2 separate regions of the Homo sapiens genome follow, and region 1 is linked to region 2. The links are contacts of gene promoters, found by promoter capture Hi-C in blood cells and fetal thymus (Javierre and others, 2016). All regions are on one chromosome and are shown on one strand. Each heading gives the region's core, a stretch centred on a gene start or on the middle of the fragment in contact. The rest is flanking DNA. Distances are from core to core; before and after follow the strand shown. Region 1 holds the start of OR52B2 (olfactory receptor family 52 subfamily B member 2). Region 2 holds the start of OR56B4 (olfactory receptor family 56 subfamily B member 4).

Region 1 (6,652 bases), core at 2,471-4,970, 63 kb before region 2:
ATTAATACTTGTATAAATAAATATCTAGATAATACAACTCGGCAAAAAGGTAACTCAACTCCTGTATAGTTACCTAAAAATTATATCACATGTGGTTTGTGAACACATTTGAATACATTGTTATGATGGAAGGAGAGTCTTCTGAATTGAGATTGCATAAAGACATAAAAGACCTTTATATAACCCCCTAAAGAGGAAACAGTTATTACCAAAAAATAGAGCTGGTTAGGAAGTCTGGTCAGGAGCTGCAGAGAAGTGGGCTCCATTTCGCCTTTAAAGTGTGGACCAAATCTTCTCTATAATTCCCACTTCCAAATCTCCTCAGTTCTGCAGTTGAAGCTGACTCCCATTGTTCTGTGATGTTCCTGAGGCTTCTGTAAATGATGGAGATAATTTCTCTTTGTGTTGAGACAGGTGGATGTTTTTCAGAGCATTTACAGGAAGACTGCCAGGTAGTCCTCACCCAAGCTAAGTCCATCAGTAGTGGATATGCCTGGTGCACCACCCAAAGCCCTTGGGTCTGGTTTTTGAGACACCAGGTTTATCTGAGAGATCTGGTCTCAGGCTATTTTCCTTTCATTGGGCACTTCCTTCATTCCTTTTCCTCCTCTTTCTTCCTGAGAAAGGAGTTTCCTTTGGTCATATTTGGATGAAGAATAAGACTTTAATGTTGCTAAATATTCATTAAGGTGTTTTGCCTACTGGAAAAAATACAAGAGAATGATGGCCAAACAGAGGTAATAATGATGATGATGATGATGATATAAACAAGAATAGTAACCTACTTTTCTGAGCACTCAATACAAACTTATTTAATCCCCACAATTACCACATGAAGTTTTTTTTGGTATCCACATCCTTTTTTTTTTTTTTTTTTTTTTTTTTATATCAGGGATTCTTTTTTTTTTTTTATTTTTTTTAATTTTTTTTTTAATTTTTTTTTTTATTATACTCTAAGTTTTAGGGTACATGTGCACATTGTGCAGGTTAGTTACATATGTATACATGTGCCATGCTGGTGCGCTGCACCCACTAACGTGTCATCTAGCATTAGGTATATCTCCCAATGCTATCCCTCCCCCCTCCCCAGGTATCCACATCTTACAAATAAAAAAACTGAGGCATGCAGAAGTAAAGTGACTTGCCCAAGATCTAGTTAGTTAGGGAAGAACTGGGAAATGAATGCAGAAAGTCTGGCTCCGGAACTTAATATCTACACCTTCTTTGTTGTGTTCTTTCCCAGCTAGCTTGGCTCCTGCTCCATCTCTACTATTCTGGCTCTTTTTTTTCTCGCTCAGCTGGATGTTCTCTTGGGAGCTCTGGGAGGTACTTCTGGGAGACGTTGGATATTCCTCTTTTTGCCTGTGAGTTTCCTTTCTTCTCACCCTTAACTCTTTCCTAAATGAGGCTCGAACGCTCCAAAGGTGCTTGACAGAGGAGCAGCAGGGCTTTGATGGAGCTCTAAGACGCCACTGGATAAAATGAAAGTCCTTCTTTCCATGGGCAGTAACCTCCTTTCCAGGACCTCATTAACAGCCATCTAGGCCTCATTGCCCCTCTCTCCACCCTGCCTTTGGTACTCACTGTTGGAGTGATAAAACATCACAGAGTCATAAGCAGAGAGCAGACTTGTTTTGATGAGGACGTATATCAGGTGTCTTACTGTTTTATTGAGAAGGAGTATGTTAATAACTGGAGGGGTTGGGAAAGTTGTGAGAAAATAAATGTCCAATAAATTTCCTCCTAAGGAAAATGAATTTGTTTTTTTTGCTGGGGCTTTTGCTTGTATAAATTTGAGTTCAATACTTTAAAATAGAGCCAGAGCAGTGCTACTAATGACTTCTTCTCTGTGCTCATTCCAGCAAAGCTCAGCCTCTCTTCTAAGTAGAAGTTGAACATACATATATACACACGCACATATATATATACATATATGTGTACATATAATATGTATTTTATATATATACATATATGTATATATATATATTTTAAAGAGACAGAGTCTTGCTCCATCACCTAGGCTGGAGTGCAGTGGTGCCATCATAGCTCATTCACTGCAGCCCCAAACTCCTGGGCTCAAGAGATCCTCCTGCCTCCGCCTCCAAGTAGCTGGGACTACAGGTGCGTGCCACCATTCCCGGCTAATTTTTAAATTGTTTTGTAGCGACAGGGTCTTGTTATGTTACCTAGGCAGGTCTTGAATACCTGGCCTCAAGCGATCCTCCCATCTTGGCCTCCCAAACTTCTGGGATTATAGGCATGAGACACTGTGCCTGGCCCAAATATTTAAAATATACTGACTTGAATGCTGTCAGATTATTAGCCTGCCTGCGGCCTTTACTTGTCTGGATCTGGCTCTATTCCCTTCCTTGTACCCATCTGGAGTCCCATTGCTCCCTCCCCACAGCCCACTGTGCTCTGAGAAAGTTCATTTGCATAGAGGCAGAGGGATGGACTAATAAACTGAGGATTTGATTCCTTTGCATCTCTTCTTTGGGGCCCTCTGAATACCATTATCAGAAGATCAGTCTAGTGTTTATTTGGTACCTTTATAGTTCTGATTCTCTCTTTACTGTCTCTGTGGTCCCTTTTCTTCATGTTCCCTTCTAGATTCTTAATCATACACTCTTTCCCTAGTCCTAATAGCTGACAGATAGTTCAGAACTTCAGAATGAAACAAATATTACCTGAGTGGCAGGCAAGCCAAGAAGGGCTCTATACTTAATCCTTCTTGGCAGCAGGGAAACATGGTTCCTTCTGAGCGTTGGGGAACAGTGGGGTGGGAAGAAGGGCAGTATTAGTGGAGTCAGCAGAGTTTACAGGTGGGCAATAGATTGATTTCTTTTGCTCAGAATCGTTTTCCTGGGGGGCTTCTACAGATAAGGAAGCCCAGACATAACCAAGAGGCTCCTGTATAGAAATATTTGAGGAGGAGCATGAGAAGTCCATGAGGAGCTGGTGATGAAAATTGCCTGTCTCAGTTTCATTGGCTGCCCCATTGCTCACTGCATTAGGGAAGATATGAATCTGGATCAGAGTGGAGAAATGTACCCCTCTAGGCTTCCTCTGGATTCCCACTTGATACTCTACTCCCTTGCACAAGGGGCCAGAGGTGCAAGTGTCCTGTGAAATGTTCAAGGCAATAGCCAGATAAACTTAATAGGATTAAATATAACCCAGTTAAAATATAGTTTAGTTAATAGTTTTTTAGGAAGGAGATATATTGCTATGAACACAGACCATTACAAAGTGGTATGTCTTGAGGACTTATTTTAAGGTTAAAATTTTGTTAAACAGAAGTAGAAGGGGAGGGAAATTAAAGGTAAATGCAGAACAAAATCTTGGGGAAAGGGACAAGTACAACACAGGTAGGTGGAAAATGCTGCTTGTGTGGAAATAGTAGAATGAGGTCAGAAAGGGAGAGTGAGGCCAAACTCTGGGGGCAGGGTGGTTGCAGGAAGGTGCTGCCACTTCTGTTCATACTTGAAGCATTATTGCCACAGAAGCTCTATCTGCAAAGGAAGCACTATGGGCCAGAAGCCATTCCTATACCAAGTGAACATTCTCTGGGAGTACTTGCTGCTGGAGAGTCCAGCAATTTAGAAATCCATGCTGTCTTTTATGATATTTATACATATTCGGGAGTGCTTTCTGTTTCTATCACTTTCAGTAGACTCATCAGCTTCTAAGTCATTATAGAGAGGACCATAAAGTGCATCATGAGTCACACCAATGTTACCATCTTCCATCCTGCAGTTTTTGTCCTTCCTGGCATCCCTGGGTTGGAGGCTTATCACATTTGGCTGTCAATACCTCTTTGCCTCATTTACATCACTGCAGTCCTGGGAAACAGCATCCTGATAGTGGTTATTGTCATGGAACGTAACCTTCATGTGCCCATGTATTTCTTCCTCTCAATGCTGGCCGTCATGGACATCCTGCTGTCTACCACCACTGTGCCCAAGGCCCTAGCCATCTTTTGGCTTCAAGCACATAACATTGCTTTTGATGCCTGTGTCACCCAAGGCTTCTTTGTCCATATGATGTTTGTGGGGGAGTCAGCTATCCTGTTAGCCATGGCCTTTGATCGCTTTGTGGCCATTTGTGCCCCACTGAGATATACAACAGTGCTAACATGGCCTGTTGTGGGGAGGATTGCTCTGGCCGTCATCACCCGAAGCTTCTGCATCATCTTCCCAGTCATATTCTTGCTGAAGCGGCTGCCCTTCTGCCTAACCAACATTGTTCCTCACTCCTACTGTGAGCATATTGGAGTGGCTCGTTTAGCCTGTGCTGACATCACTGTTAACATTTGGTATGGCTTCTCAGTGCCCATTGTCATGGTCATCTTGGATGTTATCCTCATCGCTGTGTCTTACTCACTGATCCTCCGAGCAGTGTTTCGTTTGCCCTCCCAGGATGCTCGGCACAAGGCCCTCAGCACTTGTGGCTCCCACCTCTGTGTCATCCTTATGTTTTATGTTCCATCCTTCTTTACCTTATTGACCCATCATTTTGGGCGTAATATTCCTCAACATGTCCATATCTTGCTGGCCAATCTTTATGTGGCAGTGCCACCAATGCTGAACCCCATTGTCTATGGTGTGAAGACTAAGCAGATACGTGAGGGTGTAGCCCACCGGTTCTTTGACATCAAGACTTGGTGCTGTACCTCCCCTCTGGGCTCATGAATCTTCATGTCCAGCTCCTTCAAGGAAGCTAGATGTGAAATACAGAGATTTCCTGGACTGAGAAGGCTTTTCTTCCTCTTCTTTCTATTTCATCTTCCGCCCCCAACTTTTCTTTCTTTTCTCATAATTCTTCCTCCTTCTCTTGTTTGTTTTCTCTAACCTCTTTACATATTCCTCCCTACAACCCAGAAATAATAACTAAGTGTACATGCCTCTGATATGAGGCTTTGGTACCCTCAGTAGACTAGATAGACGCCAGAAGCGCAGGGATCTGAACACCACATGAAATGAGGTTATAAAGAAGTGGATAAAAATAATTTTATATTTACCATTTTAAGGGGTTTTAATTTTTTAAAAAAATCCCAAATGTGCATTGATTCTTTGTACAGAATCAAGTGGCCTGCCACCCACTACCACAATGGCAGGTGAGTTTGAGGAACAGCCATGCATGACCTTTGGTCATCTGGAAAAACTTCCTTTCCTTCAAATTTTAGTTCAAGAAAAGTTGAGTCTTTTCTAATTTCTCCAGGCAAGCCAAGGGTCCTATGTTTGCATGTCTAGTGTATCTTGTACAAATCTCCAAATGTGCATAATAAATTGTAATGTAATGAGTTGTTCATTTATTTGTACCCTCAATTGACTGCAAACTCCTTGAAATCAGAAGAGTGTATATTATTCATATTTGTATCCCCAATGCATTACAAAATGCCTGACACATACTACATTTTTGAAAAATGAATGGGAGCGCAATTATCTCCTTGAGATCAGAACAGGCATCTCTATGGTACACTGAAATGACCAGCTAAATTATTTCACAAAACCAGTGATTAGTAAATCAGCTCCTCATGAAGGCAGTTTGGCATAATTGAGCCAAATCAACTGCTGATTTGCAGTACTTCTCTCTGCTGTAACTCAGGGACCAGCGAAAAGACAAAGTAGGAGGAAACAGGGTACTCTTGATTCTCTCTTATATCTAGTTTTTGACCAGACCCAGAATTAGGAATTATAGTACATTGTTCATGGCCAGGTTGGCAAAATTGGAGTACTCTCTTGGGATTCACAGTCTCAACTCTTATTCTTTTATGCTTTTCCAGAAAAGGTCATGTACACTCATTTCTTTAGCCACCACCAACACTAATGAGTCCCATATCCCTGTCTCTAGTCTAAAGCTCTCTTTTGAGTGTTAGACACATAAATCCACCTATTAACTGGTTATTCTTCCTAGGATGTAGAACTCCCACTCCACTTTTCTTCCTACATTTCATTTCTTGGGAACTAGATTATGATGATCCCATCAACTTCACTGAGCTGGAAACCCTATAGTCTTTTTCAACTTTCTCCTCTTAGGGCTGATACTCAAAAAGTTATTGGTTGATATTTATATTGATTGTACCACTAAATAAGTATATGGATAGTATTTGGACTCATATCAGGACTCAAGTCTTGTCATCATCATTTTCTAGCTATGCGAACTTGCACAGTTTGTTTAACATTTTTGGTTCTCAATTTTTAAATCTATAAAATGGGTACTTTATAGGTTACCTTCACAGGGTTATTTAGAAGATTAAATGAAATAAACCTTATGACTATACTTAACATAATCTTTAGCTCATAGTTTCTGAGAAATATTTTGTTAATACTTACTAGTATTGTTAGTCTTTTCAACACTGCCTATACAAATTACTTATGACTTTTCTCATCTTTCACTTCAGATATTGCATTACTTTCTTAGCTGAGATCAATGTTTTCAATCTTTTACGCATTAGCCTAAACTATGAAATGACTCTACATTAAATTTTCTAAAAGACAGAGCTTATCAAGGCACTTTCTGTCAAATACTTTGGAGGGTTTTTCATTAATTACAGAGAGTTTTCCACAGAATATTCTGTAGCAGTAGATATCAGATATAAATAAATGTTTTATTAAAAAGTTTCATGGTCAGATAATTGTGGAAAATGCTG
Region 2 (6,202 bases), core at 2,563-5,062:
ATAAAGTTCTTATCTTGAGCTTGGAATTGGAATGAGAAAATACTGCATAACTATTATGTAATTTGGGCATATTAATAAAAAAGTATAAGTTTGAATGTGTTAATAAAGTTATGCATACAACAACCTGTCAAATAGATATATTTAATAAAATGTGCAGATCAATGAAATGGGGATGTGGGGAGATGTGTGAAAGAGATCAGTTCAGCAAAAGTCAGGAGTAGGAGAAATCTGCCAGAAAACATAATAAAAATAAATAAGATGACAGGGTGAAACAAAACAAAATCATAGGAATTATAACAAATATGAATGGACTTAGTTCCCCTATTTAAAGGGAAAGTTCCTCAAATATGGTTAAAAATAAAGATCAAACTAACGGTGTTTCCAAAAGACAGACTAAAGTTAAAATATCAAAGGAATATGGAAAGAAGTGAATGAGAGAAGACAAACAGGCAAATATAGTATGACAGTATTAAAATCATATAAAGCAAAGCATATGGGCAAATATGAAATACATGACAAACATAAATAATTCATAAAAATAAAACAATGCACAATCTTTTTTTATCCTCATGGCACATATAGAGGAGAGAATAATTAATTGCATAAATCTTCCTGACTCCAAGATGAATGTTAGGTGTTTATTTATTTTCAGAAGAACTGAGACACATGTCCACAGAAGTTGTTGAGAGTGGCCTACAATTTGGGCTGCTGTGCATAGACTCATGCTATGTATTTTTGAATGAATGAATAAATAAACAAATAAATAAATAAAGGTATGTATGAATGAAAGTTTAAAGGCAGCTTTGAGGATGGCACACTATTGCCATCTACCAGAGACAGCTAAACTGCCTGAGCCTCAGTACTGCCACTTCCCAGTGGGTGAATTTATATAATTACCCAAACTTAGCCCCTATTTCTTTGTAGAAAAGAATTAATAGTAATCCTTTAACAGCTTCCTAATTAAGAGGACTGCTATGAAAATTATGTGAAATTACTCAATCCACTGTGGGAAAGTATTTTGCAAACTGTGAAGAACTCTGCAGGATTAGATGTTATTACTCTGATCCTTCAGGGTAACAAACCATGGGAGGTTGAGTTAAGTTAAAATCCTTTCTGTAATTGTCTCTCTCTTGCCTCCTCTTATTAGATGATCAGTTGCTTCCATTTGAATCACTGTCAAGAAAGAATGAAGCAGCCAATTCTTTTGGAGGAAGTTGATAGTCTCTTTTTGGGTAAGTTTCCAAGCATAACTCTTAAGAAGTCCTGTCCCGCACACAGATGACTTCCCCCTGCAGCTCTGTTATGCTGCCCAGCATGCATTACTCTGGTGAGATGAGCTGATGGTTTCTGATGTTGCTTTAGTCCTTGTGCTATTTCCTAAGAAGTTGTTTTCCAAGGTGGACTCATGTGCAAACTTCCTGAGGTCATTATTCAGACCATGGTCCAGGTATTTTCTTTGATACACATAATTCAACAGATCTATAATGCTCCCTGATTATATAATGAATTAAGCACCTACTGTGTGCAATGTTCTGACTGAGGCTCATTGAAAGTACACATGAATGGTTCTTGTACTCAAAAAGTGTGCAATTTTTTTAGGTGAGCAAACAGCAAAAATTCAGTTAGCTTTAATTAACAGGTTATTTGAAACTATTTTTATAGGGCATTTTCTAGGATCCATTTTCTTCCTTTCCTAGCAAGAAAACTGCCACATAGTTAGATTTATATTTCCATGTGTATATCTTATTTCAAAGCATGTATTCTTTATCTCTTTTGATTGTCACAGCATGTTTGCGATTTGGCTCAGCAAAATGTTATGATTTTTGTCACTTTTAATCAGAAGAATTGAAACATAGGGAGGTTTCATAAGTTGTTCAAGTTCACACAGAAATTTTGGAACAGAGCAAGACTGAGAGTAAGAATAGTGCTATGGTTTTTCAATCAGACTTCCCAGGACTTGAATCCCAGCTCTCCCACTTAGAAACTGTGCTGTCAGGGGGCAAGTTCTATAATTTCCAGTGCCTGAGTTTTCTTAGCTGGAAATTGGGAATAATATTGTACCTGCCCAAAGGGTTATTGTGAGAATTGAGTCAGATAATCTACATACATATTTTATCAAAGTTTCTGGCCTACAAGAAGTATTTAACACTTGTTAACCATTAATTCATTAATTATTGAGATTTTTTTGGGTACGAAAATTAAACTTTACTCCTTTTTAATAAACATTTATTGTTTACTTTTTATTATAAAAATTACATATGAAAAGCACATAAATATGTAAGAGTTAAATATGTGTAAATATTAAAGGCTTTGTTTTCTATTATTAGTCATATTATAATGATTTTTATGAATAACTTTTTGACTGCATTTAGACTATTTCTTTTGGATATTTTTCTAAAATAGAATTACTGGTTAAGAACATTTAAACATTTATAAACATTTTGATAAATTTTACCAAATTGCTTTTTGGTGTGTTTATAGTCCTACCAGTTGTGTAGGAAAGTGTTAATCTCGGGGTAGGCTAGCAGTAATAGTTAGAAACATTTCACTTTTTTGTTCTTACTTATTTTCCAGGTAATAGGAAATTTTCTTGTAATTTTAATATACATATTTTGATTAGTGAGGCTGACAGTTTTCATGATTTTATTGGCCATTTTTTTCCTAGGGAGTGTGGTAAGTGCAGATTATAACCCTGATCTATTGAGAACTAAAACCTCTGTCATTTCCTAACATCTTACTGGATTCCTAAAGCTGGAGTTACTTGGACACGTCCTGACCCAGTCCAAGCAGTCTCTGAAAGCCCAGTCTGAGTTTGTGCATCCTGAGTGCACAGGCCAGGGGGTTGAGTGCAGGGGGGATGACATTGTGCAGCACATTAAGGAACACAGGAATAAGGGGAATCTTTTTCTCTGCAAGGTGTGTGACAGACAGCACAATGATACCTGTGTGGAAGAGGATGAGGATGAGGTGGGAGCTACAAGTGCTCAGAGCCTTGGACATTGCTTCTGCTGAGTTCAGCCTCAGCACAGAGTGAAGGATTACAGCATAGGAAGAAAATACCAGAGCCATATCACTCCCAACCAAGACCCATGCTAGCATCAGTTGGTAAAATTTGTTCACAGTGATGTCATCACAAGCCAGGCTGATAACCCCCAAGTTAGAGCAGAGGCAGTGCTCGATTTCATTCCTGGAACAGTAGTGTCTCTGGGCAGCCAGTATAGGCACTGGGATGGTCAACAGGCCATTCCTGAGCATGATGAACCCTGTGGCTTTGAAGACAAAAGCTTTAGTGACTATGGAGGGGTACTGAAGAGGGCGACAGATGGCTATGTATCTGTCTACTGCCATGCAGAGAAAGATGCCTGACTCTATGCAGAAGAAGCAGTGGATGGCATAGATCTGAGCAAAACACATGGGGAGGCTAATGGCCTTGGCATCAAACCAGAAGATGGCCAGGATCTTGGGCATGATGGTGGTGGCCAGGCCAATGTCCACCACTGCTAATATGCCCAGCAAATGGTACATGGGTTCATGTAGCACGGTCTCATGTTGAATGGTGATTATGATGAGGAGATTGGCACCAAGAGCTAAGAGGTAGAGCAGAGTCAGGGGCAGGGAGAGCCAGTGCTGCCACTCATGAATGCCTGGTAATCCCATCAGGATGAACTGGGAAATCTGGAGGCTGGAGTCATAGGTAACACTGGTGGAGGTATCCATGGAATGGGTGCCTCAGTCTCAGTGTCTGTCTGAAATAGAAGAAATCTCTGTTTAAAAGTTCAGCTAAGGGGCTGAGCATCGTGGTTCATGCCTGTAATCCCAGCACTTTGGGAGGCTGAGACAGGCAGATAATTTGAGGTCAGGAGCTCGAGACTGACCTGGCTAACATGGCAAAATCTCATCTCTGCGGAGAATACAAAAATTAGCTGGGTGTGGTGGTGCCTGTCTGTAATCCCAGCTACTTGGGAGGCTGAGGCATGAGAATCATTGAACCTGGGAGGCGGAGGTTGCCGTGAGCCGAGATTGTGCCACTGCACCCCAGCCTGGACAACAGAGTGAGACCCTGTCTTAAAAAACAAAACAAAACAAAAAGTTAAGTGTCTTGGTAAGAGCTCCTCAATAATGAACCAGCTCCTTTTATTCATGAATGACCCTCAACTTTATTTGACTTCTGGAAATATTCCACAGAGGAATAACAAAAAAAGCAAAAAAATTCTAAACAGAAGAGTTGGAATAACTATTTTTCATCACCACTTGTATGTCTAATAAGCATGTCCACATATATTAACAACAGTCTTATCACTAACAGATAACAAATGTTAGTATTTGATTTATTTCCAATTTTCTATTTTATTTTTAAACAGTCTACATCATTATCTAGAGATGATTTTGTATCTTGTTTTTGTCTTTTAGCAGTATGTGTTAAGATGTAATATAAGCACTCAAAAATTTTATTTCATGGATGAATACATTAACCAAAGACTTCACAATATTATTTAAAAAGTGTGATGTTAATTTTAATTGCTGCTTTAAATTTTTGCATTTGGCTATTCTATAATTTACTGACAGGTATTTTGCTTTTAATATTGTTTTCCTTGAGTAGAGTTTCAAAAGTGATGCAAAAATTATATATACAAAGGATATAATAGTCTTAAAATTTTAAATATAATTTTGATTTTATTTTAAGATATATTATCTATACATGGTAAAAATCAAAATAAAATGAAAAATATAAACAATGAAAAGTAAGACTCTCATGCTTGGGGCTTTGAAATCTTTTTCCTTTTCACTAGAGGCAGCCAGTAATATGTTTCTTGGGAATCCTTCCATTAATAGTTTATGCATGGATAAAAACATATATATATATATATATATATATATATAATTTTCATAAAAGACATAATCAATTGTTAGCACACCTTTCTCCTTTTTTCTTTCCTTTTCTTTTTTAACTTAATATTTTGAAGACTGCTCCATATTTCCATACTGCAGTTAAGTTGCATTATTTTCTACCACCTAGATGCCCTATAGTTTAATGATTTTTTTTTGTATTTTTAGAATTGATATATCATATTTGTAGATATTTTGGAGGTACATGTGATATTTTGATACATGTATACAATGTGTAATGATCGAATCAGTGTAATTAGGATATCCATCACCTCAAGCATTTATCTTTTCTTTGTGTTAGGAACATTGCAATTCTCTTTTAGCGATTTTGAAACATACAGTAAATTATTAACTATAATTTTCCTACTGTGCTATTGAATACTAGAACTTATTTCTTCCACCTAACTGTATTTTTGTCCCCATCAGCCACCCTCTATTCTTCCCCTACCCCCACCCTTTCCGGCCTCTGGTAACCACCATTCTATTCATTACTTCTGTGAGATCCACTTTTTTTCTTTTTCCGGCTCACTGCAAACTCCACCTCCCAGGTTCAAGCGATTCTCCTGCCTCAGCCTCCCGAGTAGCTGGGATTACAGGTGTGTGCCACCACACCCGGCTAATTTTTGTATTTTTAGTAGAGATGGGGTTTCACCATGTTGGCGAGGCTGGTCTCAAACTCCTGACCTCAGGTGATCTGCCTGCCTTGGCCTCCCAAAGTGCTGGGATTACAGGCGTGAGCCACCGTGCCCAGCTGAGATCCACTTTTTAAGCTCCCAAACATGTGTAGGAACATGTAATATTTGTCTTTCTCTACTTGATTTATTTCACTTAACACAATAACCTCCAGTTCCATTCATGTTTCTGCAAATGACAGGATTTTATTCCTTTTTGTGGCTGAATAATAGGCCACTGTGTGTGTGTGTGCGTATCACATTGGATATATATATACACTCTCTATACTATATACAGTGTGTGTATATATAGTGTGTATGTATCTATATATATCTCTCTCTATATATCTCATATTTTCTTTATCCATTCATCCATTCATGAACACTTAGGTTGATTCCATATGTTCGCTATTGTGAATAGTGCTGCAATAAACATGACAGTGCAGATATCTCTTCTATTTACTGATTTCCTTTCTTTTGGATATAAACCCAGCAGTGAAGTTGCTGTACCATATGGTAGTTCTCTTTTTAGTTTTTTTGACGAACCTCCATATTGTTTTCCATAATGGCTGTACTACTTTACAATCCCACCAACAGTGTACAAACATTCCCCTTTCTCTGCACCTTTGCTTGCACTTTCATAT

The links. Contacts are between HindIII fragments. The CHiCAGO score rates a contact against its expected background, and 5 or more counts as called.
Region 1: a contact is called between the fragment with the promoter of OR52B2 here and the fragment with the promoter of OR56B4 in region 2, in 17 of 17 cell types (monocytes, neutrophils, M2 macrophages and 14 more). The highest score is 19.0, in monocytes.

The regions. Positions count from the first base shown.
Region 1 is chr11:6,167,394-6,174,045 of GRCh38, reverse strand. It overlaps OR52B2 (olfactory receptor family 52 subfamily B member 2), which reads left to right and starts at 3,720. Exons shown (of 1, transcript NM_001004052.1): 1 at 3,720-4,691. The coding sequence starts at 3,720. The coding sequence ends at 4,691. The HindIII fragment of the contact is 5,039 bases long and covers 1-4,182 here.
Region 2 is chr11:6,105,294-6,111,495 of GRCh38, reverse strand. OR56B4 (olfactory receptor family 56 subfamily B member 4) reads right to left here and starts at 3,812. Exons shown (of 1, transcript NM_001005181.2): 1 at 2,661-3,812. The coding sequence starts at 3,717. The coding sequence ends at 2,758. It overlaps LOC124902622 (a long non-coding RNA gene), which reads left to right. Exons shown (of 3, transcript XR_007062565.1): 2 at 1,148-1,232. The HindIII fragment of the contact is 4,106 bases long and covers 3,287-6,202 here.